2 separate regions of the Homo sapiens genome follow, and region 2 is linked to region 1. The links are contacts of gene promoters, found by promoter capture Hi-C in human tissues and cell types (Jung and others, 2019). All regions are on one chromosome and are shown on one strand. The core of a region is centred on a gene start or on the middle of the fragment in contact, and the rest is flanking DNA. Distances in the headings are between cores, read along the strand shown. Region 1 holds the start of TRUB2 (TruB pseudouridine synthase family member 2). Region 2 overlaps GLE1 (GLE1 RNA export mediator).

The links. Contacts are between HindIII fragments. The study calls those that stand out against the background at their distance.
Region 2: a fragment that was not itself captured here is called in contact with the fragment with the promoter of TRUB2 in region 1 in 1 of the 25 tissues and cell types used here (pancreas).

The regions. Positions count from the first base shown.
Region 1 is chr9:128,320,984-128,323,794 of GRCh38, forward strand. It overlaps TRUB2 (TruB pseudouridine synthase family member 2), which reads right to left and starts at 1,464. Exons shown (of 8, transcript NM_015679.3): 1 at 1,317-1,464; 2 at 616-747. The coding sequence starts at 1,425. It overlaps COQ4 (coenzyme Q4), which reads left to right and starts at 1,856. Exons shown (of 7, transcript NM_016035.5): 1 at 1,856-1,945; 2 at 2,033-2,164. The coding sequence starts at 1,876. RefSeq lists an enhancer at 1,164-1,703 and a silencer at 2,084-2,143. The HindIII fragment of the contact is 10,812 bases long and covers 1-2,811 here.
Region 2 is chr9:128,515,959-128,518,990 of GRCh38, forward strand. All of the region lies in intron 3 of GLE1 (GLE1 RNA export mediator), which reads left to right. Among named protein-coding and RNA genes, the nearest start is that of GLE1, 13 kb to the left of the region's middle. The HindIII fragment of the contact is 4,090 bases long and covers 1-3,032 here.

The DNA.
Region 1 (2,811 bases), core at 214-2,713:
TCACCATGTTGGCCAGGATGGTCTCGATCTCTTGACCTCATGATCCACCCTCCTCGGCCTCTCAAAATGCTGGGATTACAGGCGTGAGCCACCACGCCTAGCTAGATTACTTATAATGCCTAATATAATGCCTATGCATCACCTTGAGTGGATTCAACACAGTACTAGGTGCACAGCAAATTCAAGTTTTGCTTTTTGGAACTTTGTGTTTTTCTTCCCAAATACTGCCAATCTGAAGCTGGATCATGGGATGTGGAACTCATGGACTCAGAGGCAACTGTACTTAGTGACACGTGAAAATTACCTGAAGTTCAAATATGAATATTCATAAAGTTCTATTGGAATACAGCTAGGCTCATTCCTTTAGATACTGTCTATAGCTGTTTGGCACTACATTGGCAGAGTTGAGCAGTTCCAACGGAAATCACATGGCCTGAAAACTAAAACATTCAGTATCTGGCCCTTTCCAAGGAAATCTGCCAATTCCTGGTCTAATACCTCACTCCTCTGTGGACCTTCAAGGGCCTGGCACAGGAATCTGAGCACTGGGACACTGACTCGGCTCAGGGATTTCCTGGGAAGTGACACACAGGATCCTGCTTAAATCTGCCTTACCCAGTGGATGGTTGATGAAAGAGGGTACGCTGGTGGCTGTGAGGGTCAGCTCCTTCTCTTCGCTGCCTTCCATGGGGCCCAGCAAGAAGCGAACACGCTGTTTAGGAGCGGGAGGCTTCCTGGCATTGAGACCTGAACACACAGAGATAATATATACACACATACATACAAATATATGTACATATAAAATATTTTTTAAGAGACAGGGCCTCGTTCTGTAGCCCAGGCTGAAGTGCAATGGCGCCATCATAGCTCACTGTAACGTCAAACTCTTGGGCTCAAGCGATCCTCCTGCCTCAGCCTCCAGAGTAGCTGGGATTACAGGCGTGCACCACGATGCTGACCAGGAATATCTTGTTCTGTCCAAACACTTGGGGGATTAGACAACAGGGAAGTATGATGTAGAAGACAAAGCAGAAGCCCATGGTGCAGAGGGCAGTATAGCAGTAGTTAAGAAACAGGCGGATTCAAACAGACTCTACAACGTAGTAACCGTGTGACAAGGAACAATACTGAGTCAGTTTCCCCCTCGGAAAACAGAGGAAAGTGAGGAGTAAGAAAGCACAGAGAACAGGCGTTTGGGAAAGCGCTCTGCCCAGGTGAATAGGTCACGTGATTTTGTTTTGGGGTAAGGACCAGAAGCGGAGATGGACTTCCAAGAGAACGAGAGCGGGAACGTGGGTCTGGTTCGAGGCACTCACCCTTCAGAAGTTGTAGCTCCACTGTATCCCGCAGGTGCTTCCATTTTAGCCCCGGGGGCTTATAGACCGCGAAAAGCCCATGCAGCCGCGACAAGCCAGCAGACCCCATACTTGAAGATCACAGCACCCGCTGGACCTGGACGGAAGTACCGCCAGGCCCCGCCCCCAAATGTGGTCCTTTCCACGGGCGCCGCCATGTTCCACAGCCGGAAGAGGTTCGCATTTTATAGTCTTCGGGGAAAACCGGCTGTGGAGAAGGAAATAGGGCCCGGCGCTGAGTGAGCGTGGTTGCGTGTCCTTTGCAGACACTTTCTGGGGCGAGGTGACATGGCGAGAGTCTTGGATCGGTGGACGTAGACGGTAGACAGTTCGCGTGCGTTTCCTTCGCCTACTTGGCCTACATGCCTTCTGCCCGTGAAGCGATGTTTCCCCTCGAAAGGCCGTAGGCTACGCCGTCAGAATCGGTTTTTCAGTGAGTTTTGACCCCTCCGACGCTCCGTCGCCTGACAGAATCGCGGCGTTCTTCGTACCCGCCCATCCTCCGCGGACGCCCGCTGCCATGGCGACTCTGCTGCGCCCTGTCCTCCGTCGGCTCTGCGGGCTCCCGGGCCTACAGCGGCCTGCGGCAGGCAAGTGGCGCCGGGTTCTGGGCGCAGGCGGGAAGGAGCCTGAGGGCGCCCGGCTCCTCTGACCTCGGCCTTTTTCTTGCCCCGCAGAAATGCCCCTCCGGGCTAGGAGCGACGGCGCCGGCCCGCTATACTCGCACCACCTCCCCACCTCCCCGCTGCAGAAAGGGCTGTTGGCCGCCGGCTCCGCGGCGATGGCGCTCTATAACCCCTACCGCCACGGTAAGGCCGCCCGCGCCTCGCCCCCGTGGGGGCGGCTTGGAGCCGTTTCCTGTGGGTAACTGGAACATAGCCTAGGTCGGGGTACCCAAACCTGGTTGCAGCTCGTAACCACTCGGAACGTTTATGAAAATGCAGATTCCTGGATCCCACCTAAACGCACTGAATCTGAATCTGAATCTGCAGTGGAGGGAGAAATGGGCGTGAAACCGAAAGTCTGTCTTTAAACTACTTGGGAGAATCTGTCATGCAGCCATATTGAGAACATCTAGACTAAATAGATGATTCATAAGTACCGATCAGTTTATAATATCCTACTAGAAAGTCAACTCCGAGGTCGAGGACCATGTCTGCCTCGTTCCACTGCATCTGCAGCCTTCTGGATAGTGCCTGGCACATAGTAAATGCTCAATAAATGTTTGCTGGATGTGTGACTAGAACATTCTAGGGTTCTACAGTGTTTTTCTTATGCCTCCTAGATTTTTGAGTTCTGGGAAGTACTGTTATTCCTACTAACAAAAACAGGCTAGGCGCTATTATAGTGGCTCACGCCTATAATCCCTATCGGGGGGCCGAAGCGGGCAGATGGCTTGAGCTGAGGAGTTTGAAACCAGCCTGGGCAACACGGTGAATCCCCATCTCTACAAAAA
Region 2 (3,032 bases), core at 385-2,884, 200 kb after region 1:
TTTTTTTTTGAGGTGGAGTTTTTGCTCTTGTTGCCCAGGCTGGACTGGACTACAGTGGTGTAATCTTGGCTCACTGCAACCTCCACCTCCCAGGTTCAAGTGATTCTCCTGCCTCAGCCTCCCAAGTAACTAGGATTACAGGCTCGCGCCACCACACCCAGCTACTTTATTTTCTATTTACTAGAGACGGGGTTTCACTATGTTGGTCAGGCTGGTCTCGAACTCCTGACCTCAGGTGATTCACCTGCCTCAGCCTCCCAAGGTGCTGGGATTACAGGCATGAGCCACGATGCCCAGTCAGGACCTTAGCCTCTTGAAAAAATAGCAGCACTATTTTAATTAATTTATTTGATTGTATTTTGTTTTTGTTTTTGTTTTTGAGATGGAGTCTTGCTCTGTTGCCCAGGCTGTAGTACAGTGGCACCATCTCGGCTCACCGCAAGCTCCGCCTCCCAGGTTCATGCTATTCTCTTGCCTCAGCCTCCCAAGTAGCTGGGACTACAGGTGCCTGTCACCACGCCCAGCTAATTTTTTGTATTTTTAGTGGAGACAGGGTTTTGCCGTGTTAGCCAGGACGGTCTTGATCTTCTGACCTCGTGATCTGCCCGCCTCGGCCTCCCAGAGTGCTGGGATTACAGGCATGAGCCACCGTGCCCGGCCTGTTTTTTGTTTTTGTTTTTTTGAGACAGAGTCTTGCTGTTGTCAGCCCGGGCTGGAGTGCAGTGGTGCAATCTTGGCTCACTGCAACCTCCGCCTCCTGGGTTCCAGCAATTCTCCTGCCTGAGCCTCCCAAGTAGCTGAGATTACAGGCGCCTGCCACCACGCCTGGCTAATTTTTGTATTTTTTAGTAGAGACGGGGTTTCACCGTGTTGGCCAGGCTGGTCTCAAACTCCTGACCTCAGGTGATCCACCCACCTCAGCCTCCCAAAGTGCTGGGATTACAGGCATAAGCCACTGCGCCCAGCATGTATTTTTTTTTAATTAGGAAAGCAATGCATGATCTTGTAAAAATGTTTCAGAGTACAGGAATTTAGAAAATGAAAGTCTTGGCCAGGCACGGAGGCTCATGCCCGTAATCCCAGCACTTTGGGAGGGTGAGGCAGGTGGATCACCTGAGATAAGGAGTTCCAGACTGGCCTGGCCAACATGGCGAAACCCCATCTCTACTAAAAATACAAAAATTAGCCGGGCATGGTGGCACATGCCTATAATACTAGTTACTGGGGAGGCTGAGGCAGGAGAATCACTTGAACCCGGGAGGCAGAGGTGGCAGTGAGCCAAGATTGTGCCACTGCACTCTAGCCTGGGCAGCAGGGCAATACTTTATCTCAAAAAAAAAAAAGAAAAAGAAAATGAAAGTCTTCTAACATCTTGCCTCATTGGTCATTGAGTCAATAAATATTTGCTGAGCACCTATGTGCTAGATGCTGTTCCAGGTCTAGATAAAACAGTAAACATTATAGACATAGAGCTTATATTGTGGTGGGAAGAGACAGAAGTAAACAAGAGAAATAAGTAAAATATTTGGAACATTGTTGTAATCTGGGTGAAAGATGGTGGTTGCTTAGAGTAGGGTGGTAGCAATGGAGATGGTGAGAAACGACTAATTCTGCATATCAGAGTTGTTTTAATTCAAAGATTTATTTCCTGCATCTTTGGAAATTTTTCCCCTTGATTAGTTCACCTCTCCATTGCCTAAGTTAATCCTCTATATGTCCTATTCTTTCTTTCATTTTCCTTTTGTCTTATTGTTTTGTTTTCTAGAAGATTTCTATATTTTATTCTCCACCTGTTGATTGAAAAAATATATATGTATTTATTATGTCTAATTTTCATGAGTTTTTTTGTATTCTCCACTTCTTCCTTTTTCAGAGCATCTTATTCTCATTTCTTATCATATTCAGAGCTCTTTTTCAGATTCACTTGTGTTCCTTGATATACATGTCCTTCTGGATTCATTATTTTTTATTTGTTCATCTTGATCCCTTTTAGGATATAGAGATTCCTCAGTTATCTAAAGATCCTTATTGCTAGTAATCAGATCAGAGATTCAAGGGGAATAATCAGAAACAAGGTTATTAAGCTTTAGGACTTCCTAAGTGCCAGCATATTGTTTTGGAATACTAGTTCCCATACTGATTAGCTGTTTCTGGACAGTTTATTCATTTTCTTAAAAAAAACTCACGTGCCTGGCCTATTTTTTTTTTTTTCCGTATTCTGTTAGTCACGGTAGTCATAAAGTCCACTCAGGTTGAAGTAGAGGGTATGGAAGGATTGTCAGACAATTTGCAGATCTGTTTTAAAATCATTACAGCACAGGGCCGGGCCTGTTGGCTCACACCTGTAATCCCAGCACTTTCGGAGGCCGAGGCAGGCAGATCACTTGAGGTCAGGAGTTTGACACCAGCCTGGCCAACACAGTAAAACCCTGTCTCTACTAAAAATACAAAAATTAGGCAGGCATAGTGGTGCACGCCTGTAATCCCAGCTACTCAGGAGGCTGAGGCTGGACAATCACTCGAACCTGGGAGGTGGAGGTTGCAGTGAGCCAAAATCGCACCACTGTACTCCAGCCTGGGTGACAGAGTTGAGAATCCGTCTCTAAAAAATAAAAAATAAAAATAAAATAGCTGGACATGGTGGCTTGCACTGGTAATCCCAGCACTTTGGGAGGCCGTGGTGGATGGATCACGAGGTCGGGAGTTCGAGACCAGCCTGGCCAACATAGTGAAACCCCGTCTCTACTAAAAATACAAAAATTAGCCAGGCATGGTGGCAGGCACCTGTAGTCCCAGCTACTTGGGAGGCTGAGGGAGGAGAATCGCTTGAACCCAGGAGGCGGAGTTTGCAGTGAGCCAAGATTGCACCACTACACTCCAGCCTGGGCGACAGAGCGAGACTCCAAAAAAAAAAAAAAAAGCTGGGCACTGTTGCGGGAAGTCAGGGACCCCAAATGGAGGGACTGGCTGAAGCCATGGCAGAAGAACATGGATTGTGAAGATTTCATGGACATTTATTAGTTCCCCAAATT